3 separate regions of the Homo sapiens genome follow, and regions 2 and 3 are each linked to region 1. The links are contacts of gene promoters, found by promoter capture Hi-C in human tissues and cell types (Jung and others, 2019). All regions are on one chromosome and are shown on one strand. Each heading gives the region's core, a stretch centred on a gene start or on the middle of the fragment in contact. The rest is flanking DNA. Distances are from core to core; before and after follow the strand shown.

Region 1 (2,596 bases), core at 58-2,557:
TGTCTCACCCTGAAATGCTCCAAGCTCTGGACAAGCTGAGGCCAGAGAAGGGGCCACAGGAGCTTGGACAAGAAAACTCACATCCCATTTCCTAAAGGTGTGTGTGTATGAACACATTCCCAAACATAGGTTTTTTTTCTTTTCTTATGATAACTTCTTTCTCCTTTGGGCCTGAAGTCATTTTGGAGGTGAGGAGACTTTTCCCACAAAAAGAAGATTGGGGAAGACATTCTGACACCTCCTGCAACCATAAGAATTTTCCAGTGAGGGCATCCAGCTTATCCAATGGAGACAAATGGGGAATTAGGGAGGGGGAAGGAAGAGAGAGGGGACTGGGAGTCCAATGGGAGGCATGATCTCTAGGAGATATTTAAACATGGCATGCAAGTATCATAACATTTACATTTACACTCAGTTTGGATCTCTTTGGGGTGCAGCCCCTGAAGTATGTGGAGAGGACGTGTTCTGGCTAAGCAGATGGGTGGGGTAGGGGAGTGCAATATACACTGCTGTTCTCCCCTGGCCCTCCAAGTACCTCCCTTTTTCACCCTCAGTGTCCTAGCCAAACCTAAGTCAAATACTACCAGCCTCCTATAGCAGGGAGGGGAGCTCTTCCTGCAGCACCCCTGCTAAAGGTTTCCTGACGCTGATAGTACTTTTGGGTTCCTGAGACTCTGTTTCTCATTTGACTAAAGCCACATGCCACTTGCATCCTGTTGGTCAGGACAGGGTTCCTACCACACTGCCCCTCACCCCCAGATCCCATCCTCAAAGAGCTACATGGGTGTAGGATAGGGGATTCCGGAGAGGGGCTAGACATGCTCTGCAGGCCTGCAGTGCCCCCAACTCACCTCCAGGATCAGCTCCTCCATCTCAAATTGTCTTTGTGAGGCCTTGTCATCCTCGGGGGGTTCATGGTAGAGGAGTGCCAGCACCTCATACTTCTTGAACACATTCTTGTAGTTCTTTGCATTGACATTGATCACACGGTCCACACCATCGTACTCAGGGAAGTCCAGCCCTTCCTGCCCCTGTACCCCTGACTTGGGTGTCCCTAGCACCAGCAGCAACAGCAGTGCCAGCCGCAGACCCGGCACAGCTCTGGGCCCCATCCTGTCTGTAGCACTCATGGAGGTAGTGGGATCTGGGTTGGCTCTCCTGGTCCAGAAGAGGTTAGCTGGGGTAGGGAGGGGCCCCTGGGTCCCAGATTCTGAGTTAGGGGCTCAAGTGGGAGGGGGGATTGGGGAATGGCCCAGAGCAGTGGACAGAGGGCACTGCTGGGTCCTGGAGAAACTGCCGACAGAGCCAAGGGAAAAAGGGTCAGGTGGAGGAATAGGAGCAGGGGGCGGGGAGGGAACCGGAGCTGCCCCCTGAAATTGGCACCCCTCAGTCCCCACCTGGTCCTGTCTAAATATGTCTCCATGGTTGGCAGGAGAGACGGATAACCTTCTGAGGCCAGGACAGCTCCATGCGGGCCGGAATCCTCCCACCTCCTACACTTCTACCCCAGGCTCCCAGGGGCTCCTTCCCTCCCCCTCCTCCAGTGTCCAGGGCACCTCAGCCCCGGTCCCCACACTGGCCTAAGAGCTCATCGCCATATTAAGAAAGGAAAAGGAGAGATGCCGGAGCTAAAAATAAGACCAGATGAGTCGGAGGTAAATGAAGCTGGGGCTGGGGGAGGGGAGGTATAAGGGTAATTAGGGTGGGCCGAGGGTGGGGCAAGGGTAATTAGAAGTTAAATGCAGTGGAGAGGAGGAGCTAACTGGGTCAGAGGCTAAATTGATAATATAGGACAAAAGGGGGACAAATGTGGTATTGGCTCTATGTCCTAAAGCCTGGGAATCTTCTGTAGGTGAAGTCTGATTCTGATTCTTTGATACTATGTAGGAGAGTGGGGCGATAAAAGTGCAAGCCAGGCTGCAGGAAAGAGACCCCCTCCACTTTCTTTTAAAGAACCAGGACCAAGGATGAGGTCATTCTCTGAATAAAAGATGGAGCCGCGTCCAAGACTGGCAACCTGGCTCAGCTCCAGCCAGTTTCCTTTGCTTCACTCAGCACTCCTAACTTGGGAATGCAGGGAAGGACAGGGCTGGCCCAGATCCTGTCCTGTAGAGATGTGGGTTTGGGGTTTCTCTGCCTATAAAGCCCACAATGAGAAGGGGTCTGTCCTTTGGTTGCCACCTGTGTGTGCACTCCCTACCCTGATCCTATGGGACTCGGTTTTCTGGGGCACAGTGGGAAGGGAGGTTTTCCCAGGCTGCATGCTTCCAAGGAGAGTGAATAGCTACTATTTATTCCCATGTCTTTGACAAGACAAAGAGGATCAGGTATTGACACCAGGGCAAAAAAAAATTAACATTAGGCAAGCATGAAGAGGTGAACCCTGTGCCCTGAACCAAGACTGATGATTAATTCTGTGCACCCGAGATCCAAAGCAGAGATGGGCGGGTAGGGGCTTAAACTTCTGGATCCAGCTTGGGGGGTGAGGACAGAGTAGTGAGTTTAACTCTGGATACGTAGGAAGGAAGGATCCTCTTCATGGCCCTCCAGGGTTCTTACTATGCACAGGTAAACTGAGGCATGAGGGAGACCATAG
Region 2 (2,596 bases), core at 49-2,548, 140 kb after region 1:
TTTCTAGTCAGAAGTGTATTTGAGGAAGAGAAACCCAGGAGCGAAGTAGCAAAAAGCAAAGGGGAGCCACAGATCAAGTTATTGAGAGTCACAAGAACAACAGTGTCCTTACTCAAGAAAGGCCCTGATAAATCCATGTATTATCCTGGAGAATAAATGACTCTCAAGTAGAACAAATGACTCTCAAGTAAAATAAATGAGTGCACAGGCAAAAAAAGACAGCTTCAGGAAGAACTTCCGGGGGTAGCAGTAAGTGGGAGTGGTACTTGCTGAGGGAACGTGCTGATCATCACTGTAGCTATGACTGGCTTTGTTTTAGGGAAAGGATCACTAGTTCAGTCTTAGAGGAGAAAGAAGGTGAATATCTCTGTTTCTGTCTCTTTCGCCACTCAGGCTGGTCTTCAGAATTCTGTCTCTGGTATTTGGCCGGCTGGGACTGTTTTGGGGAAATAGCACCCTCTAGAGGAAAGAGTATGTTTTATTTTGCGGGGGTGCCCCGGGGTGGTGGGGTGCGCAACAGATGATTTCCAGAGCTTTGGCTCGATTCCTTCCCCAGGGGCCTGGCCAGCTTTGGGGTGGAGTGTAGCTGATTGTTTATCCGCTTCTGACTCTGGCCACCGCAGAGAACAAAGCTGCCTGGCTGTGGGAGGTGGCACAACAGCTGGGAGCAGCAGATAACAGCTGGAGGTGGCAGATACAAAGGCTGGCAACCACAGGCACTACAGCTGGAGGTGGCAATCACAACAGCCAGAGGCAACAAAGAGGCTAGCAGTGGCCGAAATCTCCAGTACCCTTGAGTCTAGAGCCTTAACCCTGGGATGTGTGGTCTTACATACAGCGTACCATAGTGGCACCTGCTGAGAGCATGAGGTCCAAGAGAATGAACCTGGGGCACACAAAAGCAGTTGCTACAATTAAAAAGTTCTGGACCAGGAGCTGGGAGACCTGGATTCTGGTTCCAACTTTACCACTAATCTACTTGGGGCAAAGCTCTCTGAGCCTTAGCTTCTATGGTGTCTTTCTTACCTACCTCATGGTGTGAGGATCAAACTATATATTTTATAAATTTTAAAGTGAGAAGGAATTATAGACTAATATTTTGGGAATGATAAGCAAGGCTTTTCTTGGGCCCTAAGAGCTTCCATTCTCCAAGATATGTAGAATCTCCCCTCAACATAAACAAAGCTAGGACTTCAGTAAAGGATCCCTGAATGTCACCATAGAAAGTGCAGGGGTAGAAGTGGGGTGGAGAAGGCAGACATCCTCACCCACCATGGGTATAGACAGAATCTTCAAGACAGTCTTTCAATCTCCCATCCAAAGCTTTTATCTCCGCCATAGGATCTCTGCAAAGTGCTTGTCCAAAGTGCCTTCCTGATTGTTACAATGCTCTTTATAATATCAACTTGCAATCTTTATCCCTGCAGTATGAACTCCCTGATTGTTCCTCTTGGAGCTCAAAGGACAAGTCCAAGCCTTTGATCACGTGATAGTCCTTCAAACCAAATATTTGCACACATTCATTATATCTTTCTGATTGTCTCTTCTCCTGAATCAACTTCCCTATTTCCTTCAATCATTTCTCATGTGGTCTGGTTCTGAATCCTCTCATATCCTGAGTGTTCCTTGATGCTGGATACTGCAGGTGTGGGATGAACAGAGCAGAGTAGAATCAACTACTTTTTTGTTCTAGGGACTTCAGTTCAACTGAAGGAGCTTAAGATTAGTTTGCTTTTTTGGCAATCAAAACACATGAATAACTCATATTGGATTATTTTCTGCTAATATGTTTAATTTTTTTATATTGTACTGCTTTGCTAAATCACATCTTCTCAATCCAGAACTTGCTCAGGTAATTTTTGGACCCAAGTACATAATCCAGCACTTAACATTTTTGTTAGACTTGGCCTACTTATTTGACTCCTTTTGGATCCTAATTCTGCCCCAGCTCTTGCATTTGCTATCTGTCCCAGCTTTCTGTCAGGCACACAATTGATGGCCATAGCATTCTATAGTTTTGAATGAAGTTCATGTTAAGAAAATTGAATAGGGCAAGGCCAAAGATGAAGCTCTCTGGTGTATCAATAGAAAATGAATTCCAGGCTATCATGGTCCCCTCACCAGTACCACTGATTTTTAAAGTCACCGAATTAGATTAGCATTCTCTTCATTTTTCTTTATCTTATCCCCAGGTCATAATGAGAGATCTTGTCAAAAATCTCCTGAAGTTTAGGTACACGTTCTCTGTTGCACTTCTTCGATTTGTCAATTTAGTAGCCTTATCATAAAAGAAAATTAGGTTATTATTGTTTTTGAGACAGGGTCTCATTCTGTTGCCCAGGCTGCAGTGCAGTGGCATGATTATAGCTCTCTGCAGCCTCCAACTCCTGAGCTCAAGTGATCCTCCTGCCTCAGCCTCCAAGTAGCTGGGAGTACAGGTGTGTGCTACCATATCCAGCTAATTTTTAAAAATTTTTGCTGATATGGTGTCTTGCTGTTTCCCAGGATGGTTTTGAACTTCTGATCTCAAGTGATCCTCCTGCCTCAGCCTCCCAAAGTGCTGGGATACAGGTATGAGCCACCACACTCAGCCAAA
Region 3 (2,596 bases), core at 56-2,555, 130 kb before region 1:
GGCTAATTTTTGTACTTTTTTTAGAGACGAGGTTTCACCATGTTGGCCAAGCTGGTCTCGAACTCTTGACCTCAAGTGATCTGCCCACCTTGGCCTCCCAAAGTGCTGGGTTTATAGGCATGAGCCACTGCACCTGGTCATGCTACTGATTTTTGTATGTTGATTTTGTATCCCGCAGCTGGACTGAATTTATCATTTTGGTTGAGTCTTAGGTTTTTCTAAGTATATGATAATGTCATCTGTGAACAAGGGTAATTTTTCCAATTTGTTTGTCCTTTATTTGTTTCTCATACCTACTTGACCTGGCCAGGACTTCTAGTGTTTTGTCGAATAAAAGTGGTAAAAGTGGGCATCCTTGCCTTCTGGTCCGTAGAGAAAAGGCCTTCAATTTTTTCCCATTAAGTGTAATATTAGTTGTAAGTTTATCATATATGGCCTTTATTGTTTTGAGGTATGCTCTTTCTCTACCCATGTTGATAATAACTTTTGTTATAAAGGGATGTTGAATTTTATCCAATGTTTTTTCAGCATCTGCTTAACTATCATATGGTTTTTATTTTTGATTTTGTTAATGTGATATATCATGTTTATTGATGTATATTGAACCATTCTTGCATCCCTGAAATGAATCCCACTTGATCTTAGTAAATGATCTTATCAGTATACTATTGAATTTGGTTTGCTAATATTTTGTTGAGGATTTTTGCATCTATGTTCATCAGTGATATCGGCCTGTAGTTTTCTCTTTTTGTGGTGTCCTTGCCTGGTTTTGTTATCAGAGTAATGCTGGCCTCATAGAATGAGTTTGAAAATATTCCCTCCTCTTCCTTTTTTTTTTTTTTTTTTTTTTTTAAGAGTTTGAATAGGATTGGCATTAATTCTTTAAATGTTTGGTAGAATTCAGCAGTAAAGCAGTCAGGTCCTGGGCTTTTCTTTGATGGGAGAATTTTTATTAAGGCTTTGATCTAGGCACTGGTTTTTAGAAGTTTTTCTATTTTATCGTGGTTCAATCTTTTTTTTTTTTTTTTTTTTTTTTGAGTTGGAGTCTCGCTGTGTTGCCTAGGCTGGAGTGCAGCAGGGCAATCTTAGCTCACTGCAGCCTCCACCTCCTGGGTTCAAACAATTCTCCTGCCTCAGCCTCCCAAGTAGCTGGGACTACAGGCTGTGCCACCATACCCAGCTAATTTTTATGTTTTTAGTAGAGACAGGGTTTTGCCATGTTGTCCAGGCTGGTCTTGAACTCCTGACCTCAAGTGATCCACCTGTCTCCACCTCCCAAAGTGCTGGGATTACAGACGTGGGCCACCATCCCTGGCCTCGTGGTTCAATCTTTGTAGGTTGTATGTGTCTAGGAATATATCCATTTCTTGTAAGTTTTCTAGTATGTTGGCATGTCATTCTCGTAATAGTTTCTAATGATTCTTTGTATTTCTGAGGTCTCAGTTGTTATGTTTCCTTTCTCATTTCTGATTTTATTTATTTGGATCTTCTCTCCTTTTTCCTTAGTTGGTCTAGCTAACAGTTTGTTGATACTATCTTTTCAAAAAGCAAGTGTTTCGTTTCATTGATAGTCTGTATTTTTTTTAGTCTCAATTTTATTTCTGCTCTGATCTTTATTGTTTGTTTTCTTCTACTAATTTAGGGTTTGGCTTGTTTTTTATTATCTAGGTCCTTGAGGTGTATCATTAGATTGTTCATTTGGAGTCTTTCCTTTTTTTTTTTTTTTTTTTGACATAGGTGTTTATGTTATAAACTTCATTCTTAGTACTGCTTTTGTCATATCCCATAAATTTTGTTACATTGTATTGCCATTTTCATTCGTTTCAAGCAATTTTTAAATTTCCTTCTTAATTTCTTCATTGATCCATTAGTCTTTCAGGAACATGTTGTTTAACTTACATGTGTTTGTATTTTCTGAGGTTCCTCTTGTTATTGATTTCTAGTTCTATTGTGTTCAGAAAAGATACTTAATATAATTTCTATTTTTTACAATTTTTTCAAGCTTGTTTTGTGGCCTAAAGTATAGTTTATTCTGGAGAGTGTTCCATGTGCTGATGAAAAGAATATTCTGTAGCCGTTGGGTGAAATGTTCTGTAAATTGCAGTTAGGCCTATTAGATCTAGTATGTAGTTTAACTCCACTGTTTCTTTGTTGATTTACTGTATGGATGATCTGTCTGTTTTTGAGAGTGGGGTATTAGCTCTCCTACTATTATCATATTGTAGTCTACCTCTCCTTTTGGATCTATTAGTGTTTGCTTTATATACTTGGGAGCTTTGGTGTTGGGTGCACAGATACTTATAATTGTTATTTCCTCTTGCTGAATTGACCCCTTTATCATTATATAGTGACCTTCTTTGTCTCTTTTTACAATCTTAGGTTTGGTAGTCTGTTTTATCTCATGTAAGTATAGCTACGCCTGCTCTTTTCTGGTTTCCAGTTTCATGGAATATCTCCCACTCCTTCGTTTTCAGTCTATGTGTGTCTGTATAGGTAAATGGGTTTCTTGAGGGCAGCATATAGTTAGGTCTTCTCTCTTTATCCGTTTAGCCACTCTATGCCTTTTAATTGAAGAATTGAGAGCATTTACATTCAG

The links. The method cuts DNA at HindIII sites, captures the fragments that hold promoters and counts their contacts. A contact is called where the count stands out against the background at its distance.
Region 2: a contact is called between a fragment that was not itself captured here and the fragment with the promoter of CASQ1 in region 1, in 1 of the 25 tissues and cell types used here (small bowel).
Region 3: a contact is called between a fragment that was not itself captured here and the fragment with the promoter of CASQ1 in region 1, in 1 of the 25 tissues and cell types used here (bladder).

The regions. Positions count from the first base shown.
Region 1 is chr1:160,189,286-160,191,881 of GRCh38, reverse strand. It overlaps CASQ1 (calsequestrin 1), which reads right to left and starts at 1,307. Exons shown (of 11, transcript NM_001231.5): 1 at 852-1,307. The coding sequence starts at 1,130. The HindIII fragment of the contact is 26,832 bases long and covers 1-2,596 here.
Region 2 is chr1:160,044,731-160,047,326 of GRCh38, reverse strand. The region is part of intron 1 of KCNJ10 (potassium inwardly rectifying channel subfamily J member 10); the gene reads left to right. Among named protein-coding and RNA genes, the nearest start is that of PIGM, 14 kb to the right of the region's middle. RefSeq lists an enhancer at 1,374-1,668. The HindIII fragment of the contact is 8,881 bases long and covers 1-2,596 here.
Region 3 is chr1:160,319,049-160,321,644 of GRCh38, reverse strand. All of the region lies in intron 8 of COPA (coat protein complex I subunit alpha), which reads left to right. Among named protein-coding and RNA genes, the nearest start is that of COPA, 23 kb to the left of the region's middle. The HindIII fragment of the contact is 4,225 bases long and covers 1-2,596 here.